Linked DNA regions of Homo sapiens: region 2 is linked to region 1. Evidence: promoter capture Hi-C in human tissues and cell types (Jung and others, 2019). All regions are on one chromosome and are shown on one strand. The core of a region is centred on a gene start or on the middle of the fragment in contact, and the rest is flanking DNA. Distances in the headings are between cores, read along the strand shown.

Region 1 (3,849 bases), core at 113-2,612:
TGTTATTGGTCTAGGACCATCCTTTGAGAACCACTGTGTAATACAAATGAATTATGGTTTTGACTTTATAGCCAAATTCATTGAGTTTTCCTCCAATGTTAGTCTCTTTCTTCCTCTAATGCTGTTATTTCCTTACCTTGCTTCACACCTAGCAATATCCGTTTACACATGTGAAAGACCAACTTAGTGAAGTATTTTGTTGACTGTTTACAATAGTAAGCAACGACTTCAGGTTAGCTTAATTAAGGAGAATAGGAAAAATATATGGTTTTTTTTTTTATAGGGAGATAAGAAGGAACTCTTTGGAATAAGAGGTGGGATTTCTGTTTTCCCCAAAGTCAATTAGATGTCAAATGCTACTTGTTACCAACTTTCCAAAATCCCATTAGAGACCTTGTAATTTGATCCAGAGAGAACAGCATTAAGAGTCAGGTAAAAGGAAAAACTGACTTCATTCTTCATTCCTTTCCTAAATCCTGAGAAATGTGTATACCTCAACACTCCCTTTTCCAATCCCGCAAAACAGGGAATCAGGAAAACACATTAGCACCCTAGTACAGACTAGGAATACAGAGCTGGGAGGAGACTCAGTGCCGTCAAGACAAGGAAACTGGGGGAGGGGAAGGAAAACTTCCCCTCGTTGGACAATCTGAGGGCTGCAGTGGGAAGAGAAGGGAAGTGGGGAAATGTACCTCAGACGTCGGCCAGACACTTTGCCTCTGGGCATGTGGGAAAGTGAGGGAGGAGGGAAAAGCGCTGCACCACAGCGAGATAGCAACAGCTCCTGCGGCTGCTTTTGAGTGAAGATCAGTAGAGATAGAGCGTGCCGCTTCACATCTTCCTCCCGGAGGCCATTTCTCCATTTTTATGTGGGATAAAAAGGGGGCGCTGGGCTGAGTCAGTATAAGCCAAAGTTGCCGCCTCTTGCGCAGCCGACCCCGCTTCGGCCCCGGCCCAGGCCAGAGAGGTGGCCCTCGGAGATGCTGAAGTTACTCCGCGCAGGGGGAGGGGTCGCCAGGCTCCTCTCCAATCACGGTGGCCGCTCCAGCTATTTGCATACATTATGCTAATAACAGACCTCCTGCCCCGCTCCCACCCAAGCTTCCCGCCTCCCTTGGGGGTTCCCCGGGCCGGCCCGCGGGCTGGGCCAAGGTGAATACATTATGATAATAAGGCGGGCTCCTGCTTTGCCTTCGGAAGGGGGGCGCGCAGCAGCGGGAGCGGCAGGCCGGACGCCGGGCGCCGGGAGGGGGTCGGGGGAGGGACGTCGTGCTCGGAGCGCGCGCGCACTCACACACTCACACACACACTCACGCGAGCATCGCGAAGGGTATTTAAGGATCGCGCACGCGGGGCTGCGGAGATCCTTCGGGCAGCCGCGACTTCGGCTTCGCGAGTAGCATTGGTTCCTTGGGTTTATTTCGTTTTCCTCTCTCTTCTCCACCTTAGTCGCCCCTTTCGCGCTGCGCTGTAGCGTGCTCTCACAGCCTTTTTGCCTTGAACTGAATGCAGGTGGGAAACAGGTCGGCGTGCCGAAAGACACCGAGTAGGTAGAAATAAGGCAAACTCACAGAGGCGCAACAGGTCCGGTCCTCCGTGGCCAGGGCGAGCCGCGGCCCCGCGTGGCGCCTCGGCCGTTGCCCTCGGACCCTGAGCGGCCACTGTTGGGGCCCTCGAAAGAGGTGTCGGTCCTCTGGGAGTCGGAAGAGCTGTCTGGGTGGGTTTCGTCTTGCTTTTTACCCCACCGCCACCCAGTCCCCGGACGGAGGGTGCTTTTCACTTCCAGCTGGGAGGAGAGAAGAAAGCGGGGATGGTGCACGCCTGCGGGTCTGGACGCTGAGCAAGGCAGGGGTCCGTATCCGCTCGTGGGCTTGACTCCACCAACTAGTTGTGCAGCCACAGGGACTGAACTTTGGAGGAATCGACCTTTTTCTTTCCTTTTAGGATTATTTGAGGTGTAGAGGGTGGGAAGCGAAGCCGAGACGGCCGACCCCGCCACGATGCTGCTGAAGAAGCACGCAGGGAAAGGAGGGGGCCGGGAGCCCAGATCCGAGGACCCGACCCCTGCCGAACAGCATTGTGCCCGGACCATGCCCCCGTGTGCCGTCCTGGCGGCCCTCCTGTCAGTGGTGGCCGTGGTGTCTTGCCTGTACCTGGGTGTGAAAACCAACGACCTCCAGGCGAGGATCGCCGCTCTCGAATCCGCCAAAGGGGCCCCTTCCATTCATCTGCTGCCTGATACCCTGGATCACCTCAAGACTATGGTGCAAGAGAAAGTGGAGCGACTTCTGGCTCAGGTGTGAGAGGCTGGGGTATTTTGCACGTGGGTAACATCTTGTACAAGCGTGACTCTGTGTGCATGACTAGCCGCTACCCTTACTGTACCCATACTTGGTGTGGCTGTGTGTGTGCGCGCGCGTGCATGTGTTGGCCAAGGATCTATGCTCACTGTAGCATATATTTATATGTGCACATCCCTTGATGTCCCCATCCCTATCTCTAATCTTCCCTCACTCTCTCTTAATGTTTGCGTGTTAAACACATAGGAAGGTCTAAAAGGGTTCGGAAAGGGCATTTTATCTCTTTTTAGTTGTCCTAAGTCAAACCCAATTGTGGAGAGAATATTTCTTGCAGAGATAGCATCTGTTAAATCTTTTACATGTTGTAAGATGGTTAGGGTCATAGATGTTATTAATATATAAAAAAGGTAATCACTCTTAAATGTAAAATAATGTCATATATAATTTAAAATCAATAATTTCACACGTTGAATCTTTTCATATTAAAAGTTTAAACTTTTTTTTTTTAAAGTAGCTTTATTTTTGGTAAAGGATGCAGTGCCGGGGTATTTATGAATGCAGAGCCCTTGGAATTGAGAGTTGAGAGGAATCTATGTTATGTGTAAGGGTACCTTTAGACTAGAGTAAGGGGGTTTTCTGGAACCTTACCCTAGCCGGGAGCCTATTTGGCAGTAGTTGCAGCCTAGCATGATAAATAAAGCAGTTGACCTTCATGTATAAAATATTGGCTGTTATTGGTAAGCCACAGCTTACCTAATACTGCAACATTTTAGTGCTAGGTTTTTACATTGACTGCATATGCTTGAGCTGAGGGAGAGAGTGGTGGTAGAGAAGAATGGAGAAAGATGTTATACAAGTCCAGCAATCTTGATACCCTATCAGTGGTCATTTTCTTTTTTTAGGACTTAGGCATGGTTACTTTCTTGACTAGAGTCCAAGTACATATGTAAATGTTAGTTATGCAGGTTATGAAATGCCGGTAAATCAGGCGTATGGCCAGAGTCCCTAAAGACTCCATCCCTCTACAGTGCTACTGATGATTATTAATAACTCTTCTTTTCCTACAGAAATCCTATGAACATATGGCTAAAATAAGAATCGCAAGAGAAGCACCTTCAGAATGTAACTGCCCAGCAGGTAAAATGGAACTTATTTAACAAGGTTTCCTCCAGAGCAGAGCATTTTAAAACAAAGGTCCTGTGTCTGTCAAGTCTACCTGTAATAATAGTAAAGAAAGAATGCAGACCCAACTTGCTTTAATAAAATCAACATGTCTCATTCAAAAGGATGGCAAATAAAGCCCCAAATATTATTTTAAGCAGCATACCAAGGCCTGTTATGGGAAAGCAAAGGATATAATCACCAAAGAAAATATAGGCAAGGTGATGTACAAGGACAAACTTCTTAGATTCACAGATTGAAAAATATTCTTCAATTAAATTGTCTTAATGTCTACAGTGAAAAGGACTGTAGAACTGTTAGATTCTGAATTCCTGGCTCGCTCTTATTGTGTTAGTGCAGAGTTTTTTTTTTTTTTTGTTTTGGTTTA
Region 2 (3,549 bases), core at 16-2,515, 140 kb after region 1:
TGTTCTTGTTCCCAAAGTCAGACTTCAGTTACCTGCCAAAGAAGTAAAACCTCATTCATCAGAAAACACCTTTAGCCATTCATGCTGTTTAGGCTTCCAAAATCTGCCATGCAGCCTGTGCAGCAGGAATTCCTGCTGGGGGGAAATGGTTGATCTTCTGCAATTAGTCTGCTTCCATTTCCCTGTTGCTTCTTTTCTGTGTGTTGCTAACCTACCTCTCTTTTGTCCTCAGTTCCTTCATGTCCCACCTTGCATATTCTCTAGTCATATAGGCCAAAAAACTCTGCACAGTTTTTACATGGCTGCAGCAAAGGCCATTGTATCTGGTGGAAACAATTTTGGGCAGATGAACTGGCAACGTAAAGCCTGTGCCACCCACTTAGTAACACTGTACACATCTCTAAACCTTGCTGGATTTGACCACGTAGGTTGAAAATCAACACACTAAGTACTTGGGTTGAGTTTCATTTAGTAGGTAGAATAGCTTTTGTCTTAGCCTGGGATGCCCAGAAAACATGGCCTGAGTCAGAAGCTTAACATCCTAGCACTTTACTGGGGAGTACAAACCTAGGGAAGCAGAAGTGAGGGGGAAACGGAGCAAAGCAGGGGAGGTGAAAGGTTGTTGAACAAACATAAGGAGGTGAACTTTACCAAGCTGCAGCTTCACAAGAATTACCCCAAAGATGGCTCAGTCTCACAGCACATCATCAGAGAGGACATAGGAACTAATGCATGTCAGAACAGTGCCTCAAGGGGAGGAAGAGAGAACGACTTATCCACTGGCTCCCTTTTTAAAAAATTAGGTAAAAATCACATTAGTTAAAATAAATTCACTCCCTGGAGAGGAGGTCATTAACTCTTCTGCATGTTCAGGCAGCTGCTGGGATGCCAGTTCCCCACATGTTCAGTGAGGCCGGTCTCTGTCAGACAGTGCCTCTCAGGCCACATCTGTAGCATAGCAGGTAAATCAGCTGTTACGGTCCAGTAAACTTTGACTCTTTCCATCTAATTCATGTTAGTCACACTCATTCTTATTTCTATAGCTCCCATACTATCCACCTCATTTTAAAGTGCTCTCGTTGACTCTAGACATTCCTCCTGGCAACCCAAACTCAGTGCATGGAACTTGCATTGTAGTTAGGGAGACCAACAAAAGCCAAGTAGGTAAATAAAAATGATTTTAGGGAGTCACACTGCTATGTAGGAAACAAAACAAGCTGATGGACAGTAGTTGCAGGTGTCTTGAGAATCTATACAGCCTGGCACTTGGATGATTTCACCACTTCTTTTCGCTCTTCTGCATTAGACTGCTGACCTTAACAAATTAATTTCTGAGCACTCTCCAGTATGATCTGCCTGCTCCAGTCACTTACAACTACTTGCAGTTCTCTGACTTTGATTTGCTAATTTCTATTTTTGGGCCTTTGCATGTACCAAAAATGCCCTATGCCTCTTTCTAGCCAATCTTTCTCCTCTTCTTCCTTAAAAATCTGATGCAAAACCTTCTACGGGAAGCCTTTCCTGATATATTTCCCCTGTTATATCTTCAATTGCCTGTATTTATGTCAACTGCACCATATTACACTAATTTGAATTGAATTCTATATTATCTTAAAAATGTCCTCATGTTCTTTTCTATGTTCTTGATACTACATTACTTTCCTGGCCCCATATGCAGAGCATTGGACATGATGTTGGAATGGCTGGCAGAGACCACACAGGAAAGTTCAGTGCGCTGCCGAATGATTCACTAGATGTTACCTGTTGCCTGAGATTTGGAGTGAACTACTTCTTCATACCTTACTCTAGTTAACACACGGTCCCTGGTGAAGTCACTAACTGGTCCGGGAATCTCAGGCACTTCTCCTCTTGTTTCTCACCTATAAGAAAGTTTTACAAATGAACTCCAATGTCTTTTCCATCTTCAGTATAATTTTAAAGTATTAATATAGTAACTGGAATGTTATCTGTTTTTGTTTTTCTGAATTGTTTAAGAAAATACAATATAACTTCCAGAGTTTAAACATGGAAAAAGCAAATACTTTGTTATATAAAACAAAGAAGATATTTGGCTTCCACAATTCAGAGTGCAGCAGAAAGAGTACAGTGCTGGATATCAATGTAAATTCCCTTATCTCTTTCCTAACAATTCAGATTCATCTTCAGGGGTTCAGAAAGCTTATATTTAAACAATCAATTCAGGTAATTATATTATAACAATATAATGTTACTTGATGTAGATATTTAAGGATAAGAAAGAAAGAACAGATTTACTAGATTATAAGGCAAATCAGTAAGAGGAACTAATTCAGGTTTCTATCAACTAGAACAACCTTGGCACTATTGACATTTCAGAACAGATAATTCTTTGTTTTGTGTGGCTGTCCCATACACTATAGAATATTTAGCAGTATCCTTGACTTTTACCCACCAGATGCCTGTCCCACCTTCTAGTTGCAAGAATCAATGTCTCCAGGGATTGTCAAATATCTCCCGGGTGCAAAATTTCCCCTGGTTCTAGTTCCCCAACTAGATCATGATGTAGTTGAAATTCATATAAAATAGTTGAGGCCATGTGTGTAATCCCAGCATTTTGAGAGGTAAAGGTGGGAGGATCGCTTGAGGCCAGGAGTTTGAAATTAACCTGGACAACATAGTGAGAACCCTGTCTCAAAAGAGAATTAGAAAAAGAGTTATACTATGTAAATTATTATAAATATTTCATATATGGATTATATAAGATGTACAGAGTCTAACAATATTCAAATTTATAAAAATAAAATGCTGTATTGTTATAATAAAAGGAAATAAGCCAATTACATAATATGTAGGTTGGTAAAGGGATTTTAGGGTATGCTCATTTAAAAACTTTAGTTTTTGAGTTTAAAAAAAGAGTGAATCCTGATGAGAATTTTTAGTTCTTTCCTCACTTACAGGTCAGGCCGGCAGGTCACTGGCCATCCCTTGGGGTCAGTGCGTGGGTCATAGAGCTCTTCCTGCTGACCTCAGGCTCACTGACTGTTTGTAGGACCAACAATAGGCCAGTCTTGTAGTAATTAGTGCAAATATGCTAAATTGTGCAGATGGACAGAGCCCGTTCCCAAGGCATCTTGTAGGTAGTAGTGGCTTATCCATGACAGGTTGAAGCAGGGCGAACTTAGGTATAAAAATATAAGTAGAAATCTCCTCTGCTTTTCTTTACCTTCAATTTAAAAACAAAAACTTGCAATAATGTTTATTACTTAGGGTTAAGTATGGCCAATTTCCAAGGCAATTTTACTTTCTGTTAATAGTTTGCTCTATTTATAAACATAACTTAAAATTTTTGATTGTTTTCATTTTGCTAATTCAGACATTAAAAATGAACAAAAGAGATGTTCTTTTCTTCAACTTTACACGTATGTTCAACTTTAAGGAGTGATTGTGTTTCTTCTCAGACCTTTATTTACTCATGGATATATCTTGACTCTCAGTTAAGAAAAGCAATATAAATTTCTATGATAGAATATAAATTAGAAAAAGCAATGTAAATTTTGGCCCTGGTGTTTA

The links. Contacts are between HindIII fragments. The study calls those that stand out against the background at their distance.
Region 2: a contact is called between a fragment that was not itself captured here and the fragment with the promoter of COL25A1 in region 1, in 1 of the 25 tissues and cell types used here (H1 embryonic stem cells).

Annotation. Positions count from the first base shown.
Region 1 is chr4:109,300,171-109,304,019 of GRCh38, reverse strand. It overlaps COL25A1 (collagen type XXV alpha 1 chain), which reads left to right and starts at 1,362. Exons shown (of 38, transcript NM_198721.4): 1 at 1,362-1,851; 2 at 1,945-2,297; 3 at 3,368-3,437. The coding sequence starts at 2,001. It overlaps COL25A1-DT (COL25A1 divergent transcript), which reads right to left and starts at 985. Exons shown (of 3, transcript NR_160939.1): 1 at 693-985. RefSeq lists an enhancer at 508-1,290. The HindIII fragment of the contact is 11,543 bases long and covers 1-3,849 here.
Region 2 is chr4:109,160,144-109,163,692 of GRCh38, reverse strand. The region is part of intron 3 of COL25A1 (collagen type XXV alpha 1 chain); the gene reads left to right. Among named protein-coding and RNA genes, the nearest start is that of COL25A1, 140 kb to the left of the region's middle. The HindIII fragment of the contact is 3,474 bases long and covers 1-3,002 here.